Regions from separate parts of the Homo sapiens genome. Here all the other regions are linked to region 3. The links are contacts of gene promoters, found by promoter capture Hi-C in blood cells and fetal thymus (Javierre and others, 2016). All regions are on one chromosome and are shown on one strand. The core of a region is centred on a gene start or on the middle of the fragment in contact, and the rest is flanking DNA. Distances in the headings are between cores, read along the strand shown. Region 1 holds the start of PRRX2 (paired related homeobox 2). Region 2 holds the start of PTGES (prostaglandin E synthase). Region 3 overlaps PTPA (protein phosphatase 2 phosphatase activator).

Region 1 (2,921 bases), core at 65-2,564, 540 kb after region 3:
ACACACGCTGTGAGGATTAATGTATTATAATGTATTGCTAGGCTTTCCTTAAAAATAGTGTTCCCGGCTGGGTGCGGTGGCTCACGCCTGTAATCCCAGCACTGTGGGAGGCCGAGGCAGGTGGATCACCTGAGGTCAGACGCTGGAAACCAGACTGGCCAACATGGTGAAACCCCTCCTCTACTAAAAATACAAAAATTACCCGGGCATGGTGATGCACACCTGTAATCCCAGCTACTCGAGAGGCTGAGGCAGGAGAAGCGCTTGAAGTCAGGAGGCGGAGGTTGCAGCGAGCCGAGATCACGACACTGCACTCCAGCCTGGGCGACAGAGCCAGACTCTTGTCTCAAAAAAATAAAAATAAATAATAATAATAAATAATAAATAAAAATAATGGTCCGCAGGCTTTCAGGGATGTGTGCGGGCCGGTTTTCCATATGGGAACAGGGAAAGGATGTGCTGAAGGCTTCCTCCGGTAGGCGACTTTGGCTGATGTGACTTTATGCCTCGTAGTGAGGGCAGGGCGACAGAGGGACGGGCCGGTGAGCGGCTGTCCTGGAGAAAGAGCAGTGGCATCCGGGGGGCTTAGGGTCTCAGGTCTGCTCACTCCGCACATCTTTTCTGTGCTTTCATTGAAAAACAAAACTGAAACAAGAGCGGACACCTAAGTCTGCCTCTCTCTTTCCTGTCACCCGTCTCAGGCTGGCTGTCCTCTGTGTGTGCGCCAGGAATTCTGCAACGAAGCGCCTGCCTCTCCGCTTGGTTTTCCTTGGGGAAGGGCCTGGGGCCTCCTGGGGGGTGGGCACCGGGTGTGTGGGTGTGTGTGGGGGACCTGGCAGGGAGCAGCGGGGGAGAGGCGGGGTGGGGGGTCGCGTACACCCCAGGAGCCTGAGGATGCGCTGCCTGCTGGGAGAGACAGCCTTGGGGCGGGTGGTGTGCACAGAGCTCTGTCGGCCAGCGCGGGCGGGCGGGGCCGTTGTTGGGGGCGCTGAGGCGAGTGAGGCTGGAGCTGGGAGTGGGGGGCTCGTCGCCTTCGTCTCTGGGCCGCCCCCTCCACCTGCGGAGGCGATTGTAAAGGGAAGGGGGGAATCCCTCTGCCATCACCTCCCAGATACTTGGGGGATGGAAAACGACAAAACACGGAACCTCCCACTCCCTAAAAAGTGGGTGGGGAGGGTGAAGGGAGGACACCCCTTCCCCGCCCCCAGCGCCAGCAGCCGGGGTGGGGGCGGGCGAGGCGCGCGGGGAGGAGAGGGCGGAGGAGAGGACGGGGGGCGAGGTTTGCTTCAAGAAGGGGCGTGTGGCCGGCGCAGCGCGTGCACCAGCGGCTCCGGAGCGAGCGGCCGTGGCTGAGAAGGGGAGGGCGGAAAGTTTGTTTCCCCGACGTCAGCGCCGGGCGGGCCGCGAGGCTAGGAGGCGGCGGGAGCTGGGCAGAGCGCGGGGCGGCCGGGGCTCTCGCTCCGACCCGCGCCCGCGACCCTTCCTGGGACCCGAGCCCGAGACCCCCGCCGGCCCCCCCGGGGCCGCTCGCGGGCATGGACAGCGCGGCCGCCGCCTTCGCCCTGGACAAGCCGGCGCTGGGCCCGGGGCCGCCGCCGCCTCCACCCGCGCTGGGGCCCGGCGACTGCGCCCAGGCGCGCAAGAACTTCTCGGTGAGCCACCTCCTGGACCTGGAAGAGGTGGCGGCGGCCGGGCGGCTGGCGGCGCGCCCCGGGGCCAGGGCCGAGGCGCGGGAGGGCGCAGCACGGGAGCCGTCCGGGGGCAGCAGCGGCAGCGAGGCGGCGCCGCAGGATGGTGAGTACGGCCGGCCAGGGACGGGGGTGGCGGGGCCGGGGCCGGGGCCGGGGCCGGGGCGCGGGGTCCGGGGAGCCGGCGCGGGGCGGGCGAAGATGCAGGGCGCGTGGTCGGCGGCAGGACTTCTGGGGGCGCGTGTAAGTGACGGTGGACGGCGGTTGACCAGCACTCTGGGCTGGGGGAGGGGGACCCTCTTCGGGTCTTGGGGTGCGTCCCCACGGGGAAGTGCGCTGCCTTCGCTCCCCAGTATTCGGCTCCCGAACAGCCTGGGAAGTGGGTGTGGCTGCTGCCGGGTTACAACTGGGGAAACAGAGACCTGAGTCGGGCAAAGCCGCTGAGCTGCACGTTGGGGTTTCAAACCCGCCCCCTCCCGCACGAGCTAGCGCCGCCCCAGCTCCTCCTCGGTCTTAAGTTGGGCTCTTTGGGGGGCGAGGGTGCCTGCCCACCCCCCCCCACCCTCCAGTTTGCCCCGGGAGCAGCTGCCTCGGTGGAACGGCCCAGCCAGGCCTCTCTTCCCCGGCAGAGGTCAAAGGTCATCAGGAAGGGGCTTTAAAAACAAACAACCCACCCAAGTGGCCTTTTTCAAAAAGTGACACAGGATGGCAGGGTCCTGAGCCCTTGGTAAGAAGGGGAGGGACGGGGAGAAGATGGAGAAAAAGCAAAGGCCCCAGCCCCGGACGGTTCAGTGGGGGAGGGGAGGACCGGAGTCCTCGCGGCTCAGCACACACTAAGGATGGGGGCCCGGTGATCTGAAACCAGGCCCCTGTCCCCTAGCTCTGGGGATGGGCCGGCCTGCTGGGGGCTCTGGGCCCCTGAAGTGTGCCCGCCTGACTCCAGCAGCCCTCCCACCCGCCCCGGGGGACCCTGTTCCCGGCACCAGCCTCCAGGTCTCAGGGTGCCCAGGCTGGTGGCTGCGTTCCTTGGCTTTTCAGAGACAGGAGGTGCAGGGAAAACAGAGGTGGCTGCAGCCTAGTCTGAATCCATGTGCGTCCACGAGGACGCCTGCGACACGCCTGCCTTTCACGGGGCACCTTCTGCCAGCCTGTGGCTGAGATGAAGCCACTGGCTCCCTCATGGCAGCGGCCACCACTCACTGGCCACAGTGGACTGGCCACTGGCTGCACCCT
Region 2 (2,986 bases), core at 347-2,846, 620 kb after region 3:
AGGCGGGTGGATCACCTGAGGTCAGGGGTTCAAGACCAGCCTGGCCAACATGGTGAAACCCCATCTCTACTAAAAATACAAAAATTAGCAGGGCATGGTGGTGTGTGTCTGTAATGCCAGCTACCGGGGAGGCTGAGGCAGTAGAATTGCTTGAACCCAGGAGGTGGAGGTTGCAGTAAGCAGAGATCATGCCGCTGCACTCCAGCCTGGACAGCAGAAAAAAAAAACAAAACAGAAACCCCCGCCTCCAAGACAGGATGTGGGCTCTGAAGCTGGACACTGGAGTTCAAACCGGGCTGTGTGACCTTCATAAGTGATGTCTCCTCTCTGAGCCCAGGTTCCTCACCTAGAAAACAGGATGACTATGGCGCCTCCCCTGCCCTCAGGGCTGTGGCGGGGATCTCATGCTCAGCTCCGGGCCACATTCGGTCCTCTGGGAAGGATTCAATGAGTGAATGCAGCTGTTCTACTTGATGCCCGGATCCCATATCCCAGGACCAGCCAAGGCAGGGAGAAGTCAGAAGCTATCAGTGTGCTGTAGCCTCCGGGCATCCTATCACTTGGGCAGCTGCCCTGCCTTTAATCCTGCCTGTACCTGCAGCAGGGCCTGAGCCTGGCTTGTGGCCAAGATCCTCACTCCCCAGGATCCACCCGCATGCAGTGCCAGAGCCAGCCTTGCCTCACCTCGCCTTTGAACTGGACACAGGGGAAGACAGAGACAGTTTCAGGAAATGATTGCTTTATTAAAATACCTGGGGAGGAAGTAACAGGTGCCTGGGGTCTTTCTGCATTCTGCCGCCAGGACAGCCGACAAGCTCAGCCTATGACTTTGCAGACTCGCCAACCAGTGTGACGGACGCTACTGGAACTTGCCCCGGCCCAGCTCTGGGACTCGTTAATGTTGTTTTGGTTCAGGGGCTCGGATTAGTGGGGAAATTCCTCGCTGAGCACCCCGACGGTGCCCGGCTGGGAGCTGGCCTTTGGAGGCTACAGTGGGCTTGTTAGTGACATTTGCCAGGAGTTGGGAATTTCCACTTAAACGTTTCTCGGACTCCTGTTTTGCCGGTTCCCACTCCACCCAGATATCAGACCTCCCGTGCCGGGAAGCCACCAGGTTAGACAGAGGCTTTGTGCTGTCACGCTCCCACACTCCACCCTCCAGAACCTGCTTCTCTCACAGACACTCGCTGGCTCTCTCCATGCCAAGAACTCAGCCCGGTGGCACGGCAAGCGAGTAAGTGCTCTTAAGCCAGAGAGGAGAAGGTGCAGGCCTTGCTGACACGTGGGACTGGCAGGAAGCCCCCCGGCGGGGCTGGAAGAGGTGCTCACCTCCCAGCCCTGCACACACCTTGGCCATGTTTCCCTATCCCGGGGCTTTCCTGACAGGACGTGGAGAGAAGCAAGTATGACCCAGGCCGGGGACCCCCAGGGAGGCACATACCTTCTTCCGCAGCCTCACTTGGCCCGTGATGATGGCCACCACGTACATCTTGATGACCAGCAGCGTGCTGCAGAGCAGGAAGGCCGGGAGGGCCGGGCTGCTCATCACCAGGCTGTGGGCAGGCATCTCTGGCCAGCGCAGCTCAACTGTGGGTGTGATCAGCTCGACAGAGGAGCAGCCTGCAGGGAAAGCACAAAGTGGGAGGGGAGAGCCTTCCTGCAGCCAGCACCGCCCACGCCCCGCCCCACGGCAGCGGCAGCAGGGCCCCCTTCTCCTGTGAAGAGAAAGACAAGCAGTTGCCGGAGCTCCAAGAAGCAGAGAGTCTCCGGGTGTCCCGGACCCAGTCCCTGGCTCTGGAGCCCTCCTTCCAGGCAAATCCTCAAACACTTTCAAATCTGTTTCAAAGCTGTTTCCTTATCTACAGTGTGGGAGCATGTGGTGGTGCCTGCCTTCTAGGGAATGATGAGGCTGGGCACCTGGCAGGACCTCTGCACGTGGTGATTATCGCTGCCTCCTGCCCACCTCCGCAGGGTCAGGGTAGGTGGTGGGCATGAGAACCACGCCATGCGCCCCCACACTCAGCCTGGACAATGGAGCTGCAGCCACAATGGCATGACTTTGCCATCTGTGGCAGGCTGAAGGACGCCCTCCACCCCTAAAGACATCCATGTCCCAATCCCTAGAACCCGTGACTGTGACTATGTGGCAAAAGGGACTTTTCACATGGGATTTCGTAAGGATTTGAGATGGGAGAAATTATCCTAGTTTATCTGGGTGAGCCCAGAGTATACAGAGGGGCCCTTCCAAGAGGGAGGCAGTAAAATTAGAGAAAAGATATAAAAACAGAGGCAGCATTAAGAGAGGAGATGAAAGGACAGAATAGGGGTCAGACAGGAGAGACGCTAACCTGCTGGCCTTGAAGATGAAGGAGAGATCATGGCCCAAGGAATACCAGGGGCCTCTAGAAACTGGAAAAGGGGACGAAACAAACTCTCTGCGTTCAGACAGAACGCAGCCCTCCCGACACTTTGATTTTAGCCCTGTGAGACCCATTTCAGGCTTCATCCACCAGAACTGTCAGAGAATGAAGCTGTGTTGTTTTAAGCCACTAAGTCTGTGGTAATTTGCTATAGCAGGGATGGGGAACCAGCACGTGGCTCCACTGACTTCCTGAGCATCACTTGACTATCCTGGAACTCTTTCCCCAGTCAAATGCTTTGATTCTTCATCACAAGATCTCCCCGAAAGACCTATCAACTGACTCTTCAGTAGAAAGCATCACCAGGCCGGGCGCGGTGGCTCACACCTGTAATTCCAGCCCCTTGGGAGGCCAAGGGGGACAGATTACCTGAAGTCAGAAGTTCAAGACCAGCCTGGGCAACATAGGGAGACTCCGTCTCTACAAAAAAATGTTTTAATTAGCTGGGCATGGTGGTGCTCGCCTGTATTCCCAGCTACTCAGGAGGCTGAAGTGGGAGGATCACCTGAACCCAGGAGGCTGAGGCTGCAGTGAGCCATGTTCTCACCACTGCACTCTAGCCTGGG
Region 3 (3,083 bases), core at 46-2,545:
GAGCTAGCAGCTGGGGCCTGGCTCCTGTGACTCCGTCTTCTCTGTCCCCTTCAGTGCCTCGCCTAAGACTGAGATCCCTGGGGAATCTGGGGCTGACTAGTGCTTCCTGGGGCCAAGATGACTGTGCCATCCATTGTAAGCCCCCGTTTCTGCATGGGTTAGGTCTGGCCTGTGCTTATCAGCCATTCCTGGTTTTTCACAAAGCCAGGCTCTGGCAGCGCTCTCACATTTCAGCAAGGCAGCTTTATGCCATCCTAGCCCTCTGCCTTAGCCAGGTGTAAAGGGAAATTTATCCTCTTACAGGCTACTTTTTCTGTCCTCCCATGCCCCAAGCCTAGATAAAGGGGAGATAAGAGAGAGCAGCACTCAGGGCCGGTTTCACATATGCAGCTGGGGGCATGGCCAGCCTGTTTCATTAGCTTAAGCCTGCCTCTCCCCAGGTACATACATAGCTCTTGGCTGAGTCTTTGCACATGGCAGGCCTGGTCTGCCTTGCCCTCCCAGGCGCAACTTCTCATGTGGGCATCACCCTGCTAGTTCTTACCCAGTGCCAGGATTTCCTGTAAGTTTCTTATGCCGTTTGTTTCCATAGACACAGGCAAGATCCACTTCCTGGCAGGGACTCTTTTCTCAGGACTGAATGGCTGCAGATAGCCTCCGCGTTGTATTTTCCACCGGCCCTGGTGCTGGGCTATTTCTAAAAGCCAACCTGGAAGGAGCACCTTCTAACTGATCTTTGGGTTGGATAGACAGCCACCCGATTTCTTCATTGAGTAACATTTTATGTGCCAATGCTGCCCGCACCTCTGACTCCGATTCTACTTCTTGGTCCCTGTCTTCTGTGGGAAAGGTGTAGGGGGATGGGCTCTCAAACTCTGCCACCCTACAAAGCATTGCACACGATGATCTGGCATTTCCACAAAGATTGAGTTGCAAGCTGATTTACCATAGCATTGTGTATGAAATAGGTAGTGAAACAGGTGGAAATAACCCAAACATTTAACAGTGAGGAATTAAATTAATTATAATGCAGTGGCACGATGAAATGTTATTCACTTAGTAAAAGTTGTCATAAGATTATGTTTATATGTAGATGTGGAATGAGGTTCATGAGGAAAAGGAGCAGGCTGCAAAGCAGAGTGTGTCCTGCGATGAATGCATACCATTACCCCGCGCCGGGCACTGTGCACCTTCGGAGGTATTTATCATCAGCCCCATTTTTTAGACGAAGAAACTGAGAGGCTCAGAGTTAGTCACTTGCTCAAGGTCTCACAGCAGCTAAATGGTGTTTTAGCTGGGGTTTGAATCCAGGCCCACCATGCTAAACCATGTAAAACACTATGAGAAGATAACACAGAAGGGTATGTTAAAATGTTTAGTGTAGGCCAGGCACGGTGGCTCACGCTTGTAATCCCAGAACTTTGGGAGGCCGATGCAGGTGCATCACTTGAGGTCGGGAGTTTGAGACCAGCCTGACTAACATGGAGAAACCCCATCTCTACTAGAAGTACAAAAATTAGCTGGGCGTGGTGGTGTGCGCCTTTAGTCCCAGCTACTTGGGAGGCTGAGGCAGGAGAATCGCTTGAACCTGGGAGGCAAAGGTTGCAGTGAGCCGAGATTGCACCACTGCACTCCAGCCTGGGCAACAAGAGCGAAACTCTGTCTCAAAAAAAAAAAAAAAAAGTTTAGTGTATTTCTGGGTGGCAGGATTACTGGTCATTTTCATTTTCTTCTGTTTATATTTCTATTTTTTATGATGAGTAGGTATTGCATACTGAACAAAAGGCTTCCATAAAGTCTTTTTAAAAAGATGTCAGGGCTGGAGTTAGCTTCTCTATAGCAGCAGCCCATGGGTAGGCTGCCTACAGAAACCAGGTGCTAAAGCCACCCCGTCCCTGTCCCATCAGCCTAGTGTGCTTCCCTCTCTGGAAAGCCTATCATGCTCTCCTGACCCTCCTTCATATTCAGAACAGTGGGGAAGAAAGAGGGATGGGGGAGAGTTCCCAGTAGGGGCCATGCCAAGGGGTCATTGTCTGGCAGCAGTGGACTTCCCTCTGTGGCTAAGCGGGAGCCACTTGCTCTGTAGCTTGGACCCCTCTATTTTGCCTCCACAGGCCATTGAGAAACTAGTCGCTCTTCTCAACACGCTGGACAGGTGGATTGATGAGACTCCTCCAGTGGACCAGCCCTCTCGGTTTGGGAATAAGGCATACAGGACCTGGTATGCCAAACTTGATGAGGTGAGGCTGCCACAGGACAGGCCAGGGACTGGGCTGGCAGTGAGGGTGGTTCTGGCACCAGTTGGGGAAGGGCCTGCATTGTATAGCGCTTCTAGGCATATACAAATCTCAGTTTGTTAAAATGTCAATTTCACTTAGCAAAATTACAAATGAGTTTATACTCTGCTTGGTCATCTTCTGGGAAACACGACTGTGCACATACGGCCCTCTGCACTACAAGGCTGTTTATTAAGTCACTGTATTACAGCAAACTGGAAATGTTCCAAGTATCCATCTGTAGGGGATTATTTAAATAAATTAGTCCATCAATATCATGGAGTACTGTGCAGCTATAAAAAGGAATTTTTTTTATTTTTTATTTTATCTTTTTTTTTTTTTAGACGGAGTCTCGCTGTGTTGCCCAGGCTGGAGTGCAGTGGCGCAGTCTTGGCTCACTGCAAGCTCCACCTCCTGGGTTCACGCCATTCTCCTGCCTCAGCCTTCCGAGTAGCTGGGACTACAGGCACCCACCACCACGCCCGGCTAATTTTTTGTATTTTTCGTAGAGACGGGGTTTCACCGTGTTAGCCAGGATGGTCTTGATCTCCTGACCTTGTGATCCGCCCATCTCGGCCTCCCAAAGTGCTGGGATTACAGGTGTGAGCCACCACGCTCGGCCCCAAAAAGGAATTTTTTTCATAGCTGGGCACGGTGGCTCATACATGTAATCTCAGAATTCGGGGAGGTTAAGGCGGGAGGATCACTTGAGCCCAGGAGTTTGTGAGTAGGTTGGGCAACATAGCAAGACCCCGTTACTGCAAAAAATAAGAAATGGTGGTGCACACCTTTGGTCCCAGCTGCTTG

What was found. Contacts are between HindIII fragments. The CHiCAGO score rates a contact against its expected background, and 5 or more counts as called.
Region 1: a contact is called between the fragment with the promoter of PRRX2 here and a fragment that was not itself captured in region 3, in 8 of 17 cell types (naive CD8 T cells, naive CD4 T cells, activated CD4 T cells and 5 more). The highest score is 7.2, in naive CD8 T cells.
Region 2: a contact is called between the fragment with the promoter of PTGES here and a fragment that was not itself captured in region 3, in 2 of 17 cell types (naive CD8 T cells and non-activated CD4 T cells). The highest score is 5.6, in naive CD8 T cells.

Annotation. Positions count from the first base shown.
Region 1 is chr9:129,664,333-129,667,253 of GRCh38, forward strand. It overlaps PRRX2 (paired related homeobox 2), which reads left to right and starts at 1,315. Exons shown (of 4, transcript NM_016307.4): 1 at 1,315-1,794. The coding sequence starts at 1,536. The HindIII fragment of the contact is 25,989 bases long and covers 1-2,921 here.
Region 2 is chr9:129,751,446-129,754,431 of GRCh38, forward strand. It overlaps PTGES (prostaglandin E synthase), which reads right to left and starts at 1,597. Exons shown (of 3, transcript NM_004878.5): 1 at 1,442-1,597. The coding sequence starts at 1,567. The HindIII fragment of the contact is 13,279 bases long and covers 1-2,986 here.
Region 3 is chr9:129,126,871-129,129,953 of GRCh38, forward strand. PTPA (protein phosphatase 2 phosphatase activator) reads left to right here. Exons shown (of 10, transcript NM_178000.3): 4 at 2,115-2,240. Among named protein-coding and RNA genes, the nearest start is that of PTPA, 17 kb to the left of the region's middle. RefSeq lists an enhancer at 1-898. The HindIII fragment of the contact is 7,662 bases long and covers 1-3,083 here.